Linked DNA regions of Homo sapiens: region 1 is linked to region 2. Evidence: promoter capture Hi-C in human tissues and cell types (Jung and others, 2019). All regions are on one chromosome and are shown on one strand. The core of a region is centred on a gene start or on the middle of the fragment in contact, and the rest is flanking DNA. Distances in the headings are between cores, read along the strand shown. Region 1 has its middle 89 kb from the start of ZMAT4. Region 2 holds the start of GINS4 (GINS complex subunit 4).

Region 1 (4,184 bases), core at 268-2,767, 540 kb before region 2:
TAGAGTGGTGGACGCTCCCGGTCTCCCTCCTTGACCCCCAGGCAGAGCTTCCTTCAGGAGGCTGGCACTCTGATCAGGGCAAGTCCAGGCAAAGCAGCAGCCCCAGGCCTCCTCCCCACCCCGACCCCACCCCCGGGAATGGAGAGAATGCCCTACTTCCTCCCAGATCCACTGGAGGCCAGGAAGATGATGGCAAAGGAGAAAGCCACCAGGCCTCTTCAGGAGGAAGGACTGCCAGTGAAGCTCTCCCCTGCACTGTGGACAGGGCTCTAGCTCCACTGCTGTGGAAGAATTGGCCCCTTTCCTTTTCTCCATCACTCCCATTGTGCCTGCTCTTTCCCAGGCCTGGCCAGGAGAGGACTTCCGCATCCCTGGGCCTTATTTTAGAAGTCACCCCATGCTCAGCCACCATCTCGGGCATGACCCTTCCCGAAGACAGGACTTTTGTCAGCCCGTCATCTTGTTTGATCAACATAGGCACTTGAATTCTCAAAGAAGCCACATTGATCATGCACTTGCTAAATGGCTGCTAAGCGCCCACCGTGTGCTGGCTGCTGTGCTCAGCACGAGGGAAAGAAAGAGGTAGGACTTAGGCTCTGACTCCAAGCCTGCTGCCCACAGTCCACCATCCTGCAGCCCCCATCAAATGTCCTGCTGATCCTCCTCAAGCGGGAGTGTCAGAAATCCCTGATCCCAGACCATGCGATCTATTTAGGATTTTAATTTATGACTATTGTAACTGACTATTGGTAAATTACAACTCTCCTATTGCCAAAAGACTTAAAAGTGGATAGTAAATCTGTTAAGAAATTACATACCTATATTTACATATTTTCATATTTTTAAAAAGAGCAGATACAGAATCAGCTGCATTGGTTCAAATGTGTGTGAGGGCAACCTCAGGTTTTGGGACATCCTCAGAGATTTGTGGAGAGGAACCCTGATGAGAGCTGCAGAGGCTGTGATGCAGCTCATGGGCATGAATATTCCTGTCCATGAAGGAGTCTGCTCACCAAGCCAGCTCCCATGCAGGCAGAGTGAGGGGGCATAAGTCTCAATGGAATAAGCATTTGGGCAGGCACAGAGCAGAGGGGAAAGGAGAGAGACTGCTATGTGTTAGGTGGTGGAGACACAGTCAGGATGGGAAGGCTGTTGCCCAGCCTGAGCTATGAATGTTGATTATTTATTTATTTATTTATTTATTTATTTATTTTAGAAATAAGAACCAAATGACAGCCTCCTGATCCTCTCCAGAAAGGTGCCCAAGGTGAGATCTGGATATCCAGGGATTCATCCAGGGACGTGAAGATGAGCCCAGCAAAGGTATGAGAAAGTTTCTCTCTTAGGGAGCTCTTCTTTCTGGCCAGGCCCTAATTGTAATTTACGGAATGTTTCTTTCATAAAAAGAGAAGTCACTGACTGAAATAGCTGCTTTTGCTTGCAAGTCTCTGTGAGAATTCTCCAAGGTCTCTTTCCCTTTCTTTGCCCTCTGGGAGCACAGATCAAGTACGCACTAGAAGAATCTATTTGAAGCACTCCCTTCAGCAGGTTAACCAGTTGTTGCATTAGAAATATACCTATAGCAGCAAAACAAAATGTTTGGATTGGGTCTGATGTGATTATTTATTCCAGGAACAAGTCATATGTATGATTCTCACCATTTTAATAATGGGTTGACATCATTTCTGGCTAAATGGGGATTATCCAGCCATTAACTAAAGCTAAGCCGGTGGCTTCCATAGAGGGGCCTTTTCCTCCTGCAGCCTGGGCTCCAGGGAGGAACACCTGGACCTGGCTGCAGGTGCGTGAGCTTCCAGATGGAAACAGACTCTGTCTCTGCATACGAAAAACTCCCTTTACCCATGCTTTTCCTCTGCTCTCACACCAGAAGAACAATCATCAACGCAGAGGAAGATTCCTGAGACTAAATGTGGGGGCAGGGGGTGTTTCCACACACACCAAGCAGTGGACACAAGTTGGGGTCCTCTAATCCAGTTTTGACGCTGTCTACTCAGAGGTAGCATCAGATCCCACAGGCTAGGGGCTCAATTGCCAAGACTGCCCACCCCTCCCTGCTCGCAAGTCCAGGCTTCCGGAACTCCTGGCCAACCTGTTTCGAGTTGGGGTTCCCATGACTCCCTCACTGGGTTGGATTCATTTGCTGGAGTGGCTCACAGAACTCAGGGAGACACTTACTTACATTTACCAGTTTATTATAAAGGATTTTGCAAAGGATACTGATGGAGAGACATGAGGGTGAGGTGTGGGGAAAGGGGTGCAGGGCCTCCATGCCCTCCCTGGGCATCACCGTCCAGGAACCTCATATGTTGGGAAGCTTTCCTAACTCAATCCTCCTGGGTTTTTATGAAAGCTTCATGTCATCAGCGTTCCTTCCCTCGGGGTATATAGGATGGAGGCTTCTCAGGGGAGCACCTTAAGACCCACAGTCAGAAAGGCAGGGAAGAGTGAATTCTGCCTTGGGGCAGGTGAAAGGAGGGCAGGAGAGAGGTTCTGTTTCCTGAGGCCTAACACAGCCGCCATTACAACAAAAGACTCTAACAAGAGATGTGGGAGTTATTGATCGGGAACAGGGGGTGAAAACCCATATATAGGTTAGATAGGTGATACAGATGCAGATGATGATACAGAGACAGAGACAGATATAGAGATATCATAACATCACATGCTCAAAGAGGTCCTGTGCTCTCTCAGCCCCCCAGGCCTCTGCCTGTGCTATTCCTTCTGCCTGAGGGTCCCCTCCTGACTCCCCCGTTTCTCCACACTTTGCCTGGCTTAGGACCCACGCCTTCATTCACAGCTCAGACCTCAGCTCCTCTCCGAGCTCTTCCTGGCCTCCTACAGACAGAGGGATGGGCACACTCTTCTGGACTGGACTGGCCCTTGCCCAAGTCCCCATTAGAGCCTGTAGGTGATTTCTCCCACCAGACCAAGTGGCCCAAGGATGCTGGATCACATCTGTCTTCACATCTTCAACAGGGACATTAGGCAATCAGAAATAAGAGATTTGAGCCCTAGCCGGCAGACACCTCTTGCATCTGTGGTCACAGGTCTGGGGTTCCTTGCAGGGAAGCCTCCTGGAGCAGGATGGCTGGCAGATCCCTGGGGGTATGTCCCGGGCAGAGCCCAGTCAGGTACACAAGATAGAATCAGGGAAGGCTGCAGTCCTGGGAATGACTTTCCCCAGGCATGCACTGTCTTCTCCTCATCCTCTCCGCCATTCCACATCATTGCCCCCTTATCTCTCTGCACCCAGATCCCAACAGAGTTAGAATCTGCACCGCAGATCAGGAGCTACTGCTTCCAGTTCCCAACAGAGGGGCTAACTCAGAATCTCAACAACTGTCAGAGCCAGAAAGGCTGAAAGATCACCTGGTCCAGGGCTTCCAGCTGTGTTCAGCAGGATGGGGTGGGATAGGATCCTCGGAGTGGGATGGAGATGCCCCTCGAGCCACCTAGTGTGCACATCTGAGGGGAGGTTCTCAATCAGGGGTCTCTGGACCACTTCAACCTCTCCCCTTTTGAGAGCAGTTTTACTTTTGATTTGATCTGTAATAGCCATAAAGTTGCCTTCCACATGAAATAACTTTTTAAAAAATTATTAGAGATAAATAAAACAAGACAGAAAACCTCGAGGACTAGAATAAGAAAGTGATTTGTCCAAGGTCATAAGATGAGTAAACATCACATCCAGGACTAAACTTAGTAATTTCACCCCCCTGCACACTATCCTGTCCCATCAGCCACACTCTGGTAGCAACAACACTGTTTCCAAACCCATTCACACTTCCAGATTCTGGTCAAAGCAAAGTTTCTAGGCAAACACCCAGAGGCATAAGCAGATGATGGCAGTTTTGTCTCCATGTTTAAGTGGAGCTGACTCTACAGATGAATCCTCCGCATCCAAACATGTGATCACTTAACCACACTGCTGCTCAAGACCCGAGATGTTCTTAACTCTGCAGTCATAGGGAGAATGAGCCAGTGATCTGGGCAGGGCCTGTCTGGAGTGAAGAAGGGGCAGGCAGTTACCCAGGGAGTCAAGGCACTGAAGGTCACCTGGGTCCCATCTACCCCTGGCCATCACCTTCTGGTGTGACACAGAGCCCCCAGTGCCATGGTCCAATGAGGAATCCATCAGAGCTGTACAGGCAGAGCTGGGCTGA
Region 2 (4,326 bases), core at 288-2,787:
TTTTACTAGTCAATCAATATGACATCATAGGGCAGCTTTGCAAAGAGCCCTCAGATTGATGGAGAAGAGATACTTTTAGGGAAGCCAGAAGCAACGCTTTGCACAGAAAACAAAGGACAGCAAAGAGAAAAGAATCAGCAACTCAGAGAAGAAAAACTGGATCACACAAAGATGGAAAAAATATATACATATACAGACATGGGTTTTTGTGCTTTTCCCCTCCAGAAGGTGAGTTGAAAGCATTGCCCCAAAGCAGTGATTCTCTTTTCTTTTTTCTTTTTTTTTCTTTTTTTTGAGATGGAGTCTGGCTCTGTCTCCCAGGCTGGAGTGCAGTGACGCCATCTTGGCTCACTGCAGGCTCCGCCTCCCGGGTTCACGCCATTCTCCCGCCTCAGCCTCCCGAGTAGCTGGGACTACAGGCGCCCGCCACCACGCCCGGCTAATTTTTTTGTATTTTTAGTAGAGACGGGGTTTCACCATGTTAGCCAGGATGGTCTCGATCTCCTGACCTCGTGATCCGCCCACCTCGGCCTCCCAAAGTGCTGGGATTACAGGCGTGAGCCACCGCGCCCGGCCCCAAAGCAGTGATTCTCAAACCTCAGCTGTGTCAGGGTCACCGGGAGGGCCTGGGTCTGGTGAAATACCCCCAGTTTCTGATTCGGTGGGCCAGGGTGGGGCCTGAGAACCTGCATTTTCACGGATTCCCAGGCGATGCTTCTGCTGGTCGTCCGATCCCAGGCTTCAAGAACCAGTACCCACTTTGTGAGGCCGAGGTGGGAGGATTGCTTGGATCCTTGAGTTCGAGACCAGCCTGGCCATCATAGGGAGAACCTCCCCACCCCCAACCCCGCCACAGTTCTTTTTTTTTTTTTTTTTAATTAAAAAATAACTGGGCGTGGTGGCGCTGGCCTGTGGTCCCAGCTACTCCGGAGGCTGAGGTGGGAGGATCGCTGGAGCCCGGGAGGCGGAGGTTGCAGTGAGCTGTGGTGGTGCCACTGCACTCCAGCCTGGGCACCAGAACGAGACCCTGTCTCAAGAAAGATGAAAAGGAATATACTGGAGATTCTGAAGGCAATGACCACACTGACCACAGGTGAAACCCCGCAAAGACGGAGGAACCCAAAGAGCCACGAGAGCTGTGGGTGGAGACGGCCCAGGAGGCTGCAGCGGCCTGCTTTCAACAGCATACTTCTGGGTGGGACCCCCCGGGGCGGACACCGCCGCTCCCCTTGGCCGCGGTGGCGGGCGCCCCCTCCCGACGCTCTTGGGTAGTGCAACCCGGACCGCACAGCGGAGCGGCCGGCCCCCAGGTGGGCGGGGCCAACCCGGACCAGCCTCCCGCCGCCTCAAGTCCTTGGGTTGCTGGGACTGCAGGCCGCCGCGAAGACAGTCCCCGCCCGCCGGGTGGGCGGGCCCAAGGAGACCGCCCCGCTCTTCCCCCCGGGCCTTGATTGGTCAGCGTCGCCCTTGCGCGATGACGTCGTGCCTGGGCGGAAACTTTGCGAGAGTAGCGCGGGAGCTGAGAAGTTGCAGGGTTGAGTTGGTCCCGGCAAGTCCTTGAGCAGTTTGTTCCTCTGTCTTCCCGCTTCCTGGTGCCCCGACTGCGTCCCCACGAACGCCCCGTCCTTACCGCCGGCTGCTGTGGAGTGCCTCGCTGTCTCCCAGGTCCCCGAGTGAGCGTCGAATGGGACCTCTGTGGCTAGGGCAGGCCTGTGTGGGTGGCACTGAGAGGGAGGAGGGGAGGGGGATGTTCGCAGTTTCCTTGCGACCCCAGGGACTTTCTTTGTCCCCGCCATCCACCTCCTTAGGCCTTTGGGATCGCCGACTGGTCTAATGTCGCCGGCCCTTGTGGCTCTGGGAAATTAGCATTGATTAATCTTCCTAACAATTTTTGTTTTTATAGAGACAGGATCTCCCTATGTTGCCCAGGCTGGTCTCGAACTCCTGGGCTCAAGGTATCTTCCTGCCTCGGCTTCCCAAAGTGCTGGGATTACAGGCGTGAGCCCGGCCAGCTCCTAATAATGTTAAGTGCTTGCTAGGAGTCAAGCGCTGTGCTGAGCGCAGGGGCTTCCCACGTCATTGCGTCCCCAGTGCTTAGTGCCAGGCACTGAGCAGAGGCGCGATTCGTATTTGAACTAAAACGAACCCCGTCCCTGAGGAACAAGACCTCTACTGGGAAGTCAAAGAAATGAATAGTGATTGTATGGTGTGATGGGTGCTCAGCTCTTGGTGGACAGAAGTAAGGGGGAGGCTTGTTTGAGAAACGGATACCTGACCTAAGCCTTGGAGGAAGAGGCAGACACTGGAAAACTAGAGTCCCTGCGTTCTCTCACCACTTGCTAAAGGGCCTCTACAACCCCAGGAAACCTCAATAAACCTTTCCTTTCTCCAGATAGATGTCTGTTCTTGCAGATAATTAGAAAACGCATTGCAGAGTATTGGTTCTTTCCCTCTCATTAGGTTCCTGGTTTCAGAGAAGATGACCGAAGAAGTGGATTTCCTGGGACAGGACTCTGATGGGGGTAGTGAGGAAGTGGTCCTAACTCCTGCAGAGCTCATTGAAAGATTGGAGCAGGTAAGCATCCCAGATCGAATCCCTTTGCTCCAGTCAGCCTTTTTATTTAGTTCAACTGTGAATATCAGGGATCACAAGATGAGGAAACGGAATTTGGGGCTTACTTTAGAACAGGGACTGGATCTTACCATCTACATGGAAACGGGAAGCAAGAAGGACATCCTCTGTTAGAGACCTCATCATATCAAACACAGCATCCCCAAGTGGGGTCAGTAAGGGACAGCTTTGGGCACATTCAGTGAACAGTTCACAGAGCAAGGATCCACGTGATATTTTCAGGGACTGTAGAGGTCCCTGAACTTCTTTACCTTAGTCCCTTGAACATCTGCTGTTTCCCTGGAGAATGCCTGTTTAGCAAGAAAATGCTGAAATGCCTGTAAGGGAAAACTGGTCATATTTTTCCTTTTTCTCACATGTTTTTTCTTGAGTCGTCTGCTCTCCATATGTCCACTGCTTATCTAAAATCCTTTCTGAAATATTTCTCCTTTAAGTTGTAATAGCTATGACTTACTGCATATTTCCCATGTGCCAGTAACTGTGTTCTTTACACTTATATCTCATGATGCTCTGGTAACAGGAGTTCAGACTATCTGGATTTAAATCTGTCTGTGACACTCCTCTGTTATGTGATCTTGAGCAAGTTAGGGAGTTTGTCTCAAGCCGTTGCTTGCCTATAAAATTGAGACAATAGGGCCGGGCACGGTGGCTCAAGCCTGTAATGCCAGCACTTTGGGAGGCTGAGGTGGGCGGATCACCTGAGGTCCAGGAGTTCGAGACCAGCCTTACCAACATGGTAAAATCCCGTCTCTACTAAAAAACAAAAATTAGCCGGATGTGGTGGCGCATGCCTGTAATCCCAGCTACTCGGGAGGCTAAGGCCGGAGGATCACCTGAACCTGGGAGGCAGAGGTTGTGGTGAGCCAAGATCCTACCCACCATTGCACTCCAGCCTGGGCAACAAGAGTGAAACTCCGTCTCAAAAAAATAATAAAATAAAATTGAGATGATAATAGTGTCTATGTCCTGGAGTTTTTGATTAAATGTGGTAATTGTGTAAAGCACTCAGCATGCTATCTGACACATGATAAGCACTCACTAGATGTGAGCTGTTCATAGTAAGTATCCTTATCCTCTTGCTCTAACTGCCCCTTTCCAGAGCTCTCTCATGTTTGCTACTTTAGTATTCTTCATTCTTCCCTGCCATACATGATATCACGAATGACAAAACGGAACTAAAATGATTTTTAAATTATACCTTACATGATAATCCTTACTATTTAGCAGTGATTCTTAATCTGTTTTTATATCACAGACCTTTTTGAGAAACTGGTAGAAACTGTGGTCTTTCATCCCACAATAACGCACACATGCACCCATGCAGAATTTTGCATATGACTTCCAGGGGATCAGAGATCCCCTGAAATCCACCCACAGACCTAGTTTGTGGAACAGCATTAAGAATTCCTGGTTCGTTAGGAAAGGGTTCATTAAACAAAAATCAAAAGGCACATAGCATAAAGGAAAAAAGGGATACATTCCTGGAGTGCAGTGGTGTGATCTTGGTTCACTTGCAGCCTCCACCTCCCAGGTTCAAGCGATTCTCCTGCATCAGCCTCCTGAGTAGCTGGGCCTACAGGTGTGCACCACCACGCCTGGCTACTTTTTGTATTTTTAGTAGAGATGGGGTTTCACCATATTGGGTTTCGCTGTGTTGGCCAGGCTGGTCTTGAACTCCTGACCTTGTGATCTGC

Evidence for each region. Contacts are between HindIII fragments. The study calls those that stand out against the background at their distance.
Region 1: a fragment that was not itself captured here is called in contact with the fragment with the promoter of GINS4 in region 2 in 1 of the 25 tissues and cell types used here (small bowel).

What each region holds. Positions count from the first base shown.
Region 1 is chr8:40,984,642-40,988,825 of GRCh38, forward strand. No RefSeq gene overlaps it. Among named protein-coding and RNA genes, the nearest start is that of ZMAT4, 89 kb to the left of the region's middle. The HindIII fragment of the contact is 4,213 bases long and covers 1-3,624 here.
Region 2 is chr8:41,527,724-41,532,049 of GRCh38, forward strand. It overlaps GINS4 (GINS complex subunit 4), which reads left to right and starts at 1,538. Exons shown (of 8, transcript NM_032336.3): 1 at 1,538-1,673; 2 at 2,461-2,575. The coding sequence starts at 2,480. RefSeq lists a silencer at 1,084-1,513. The HindIII fragment of the contact is 17,762 bases long and covers 1-4,326 here.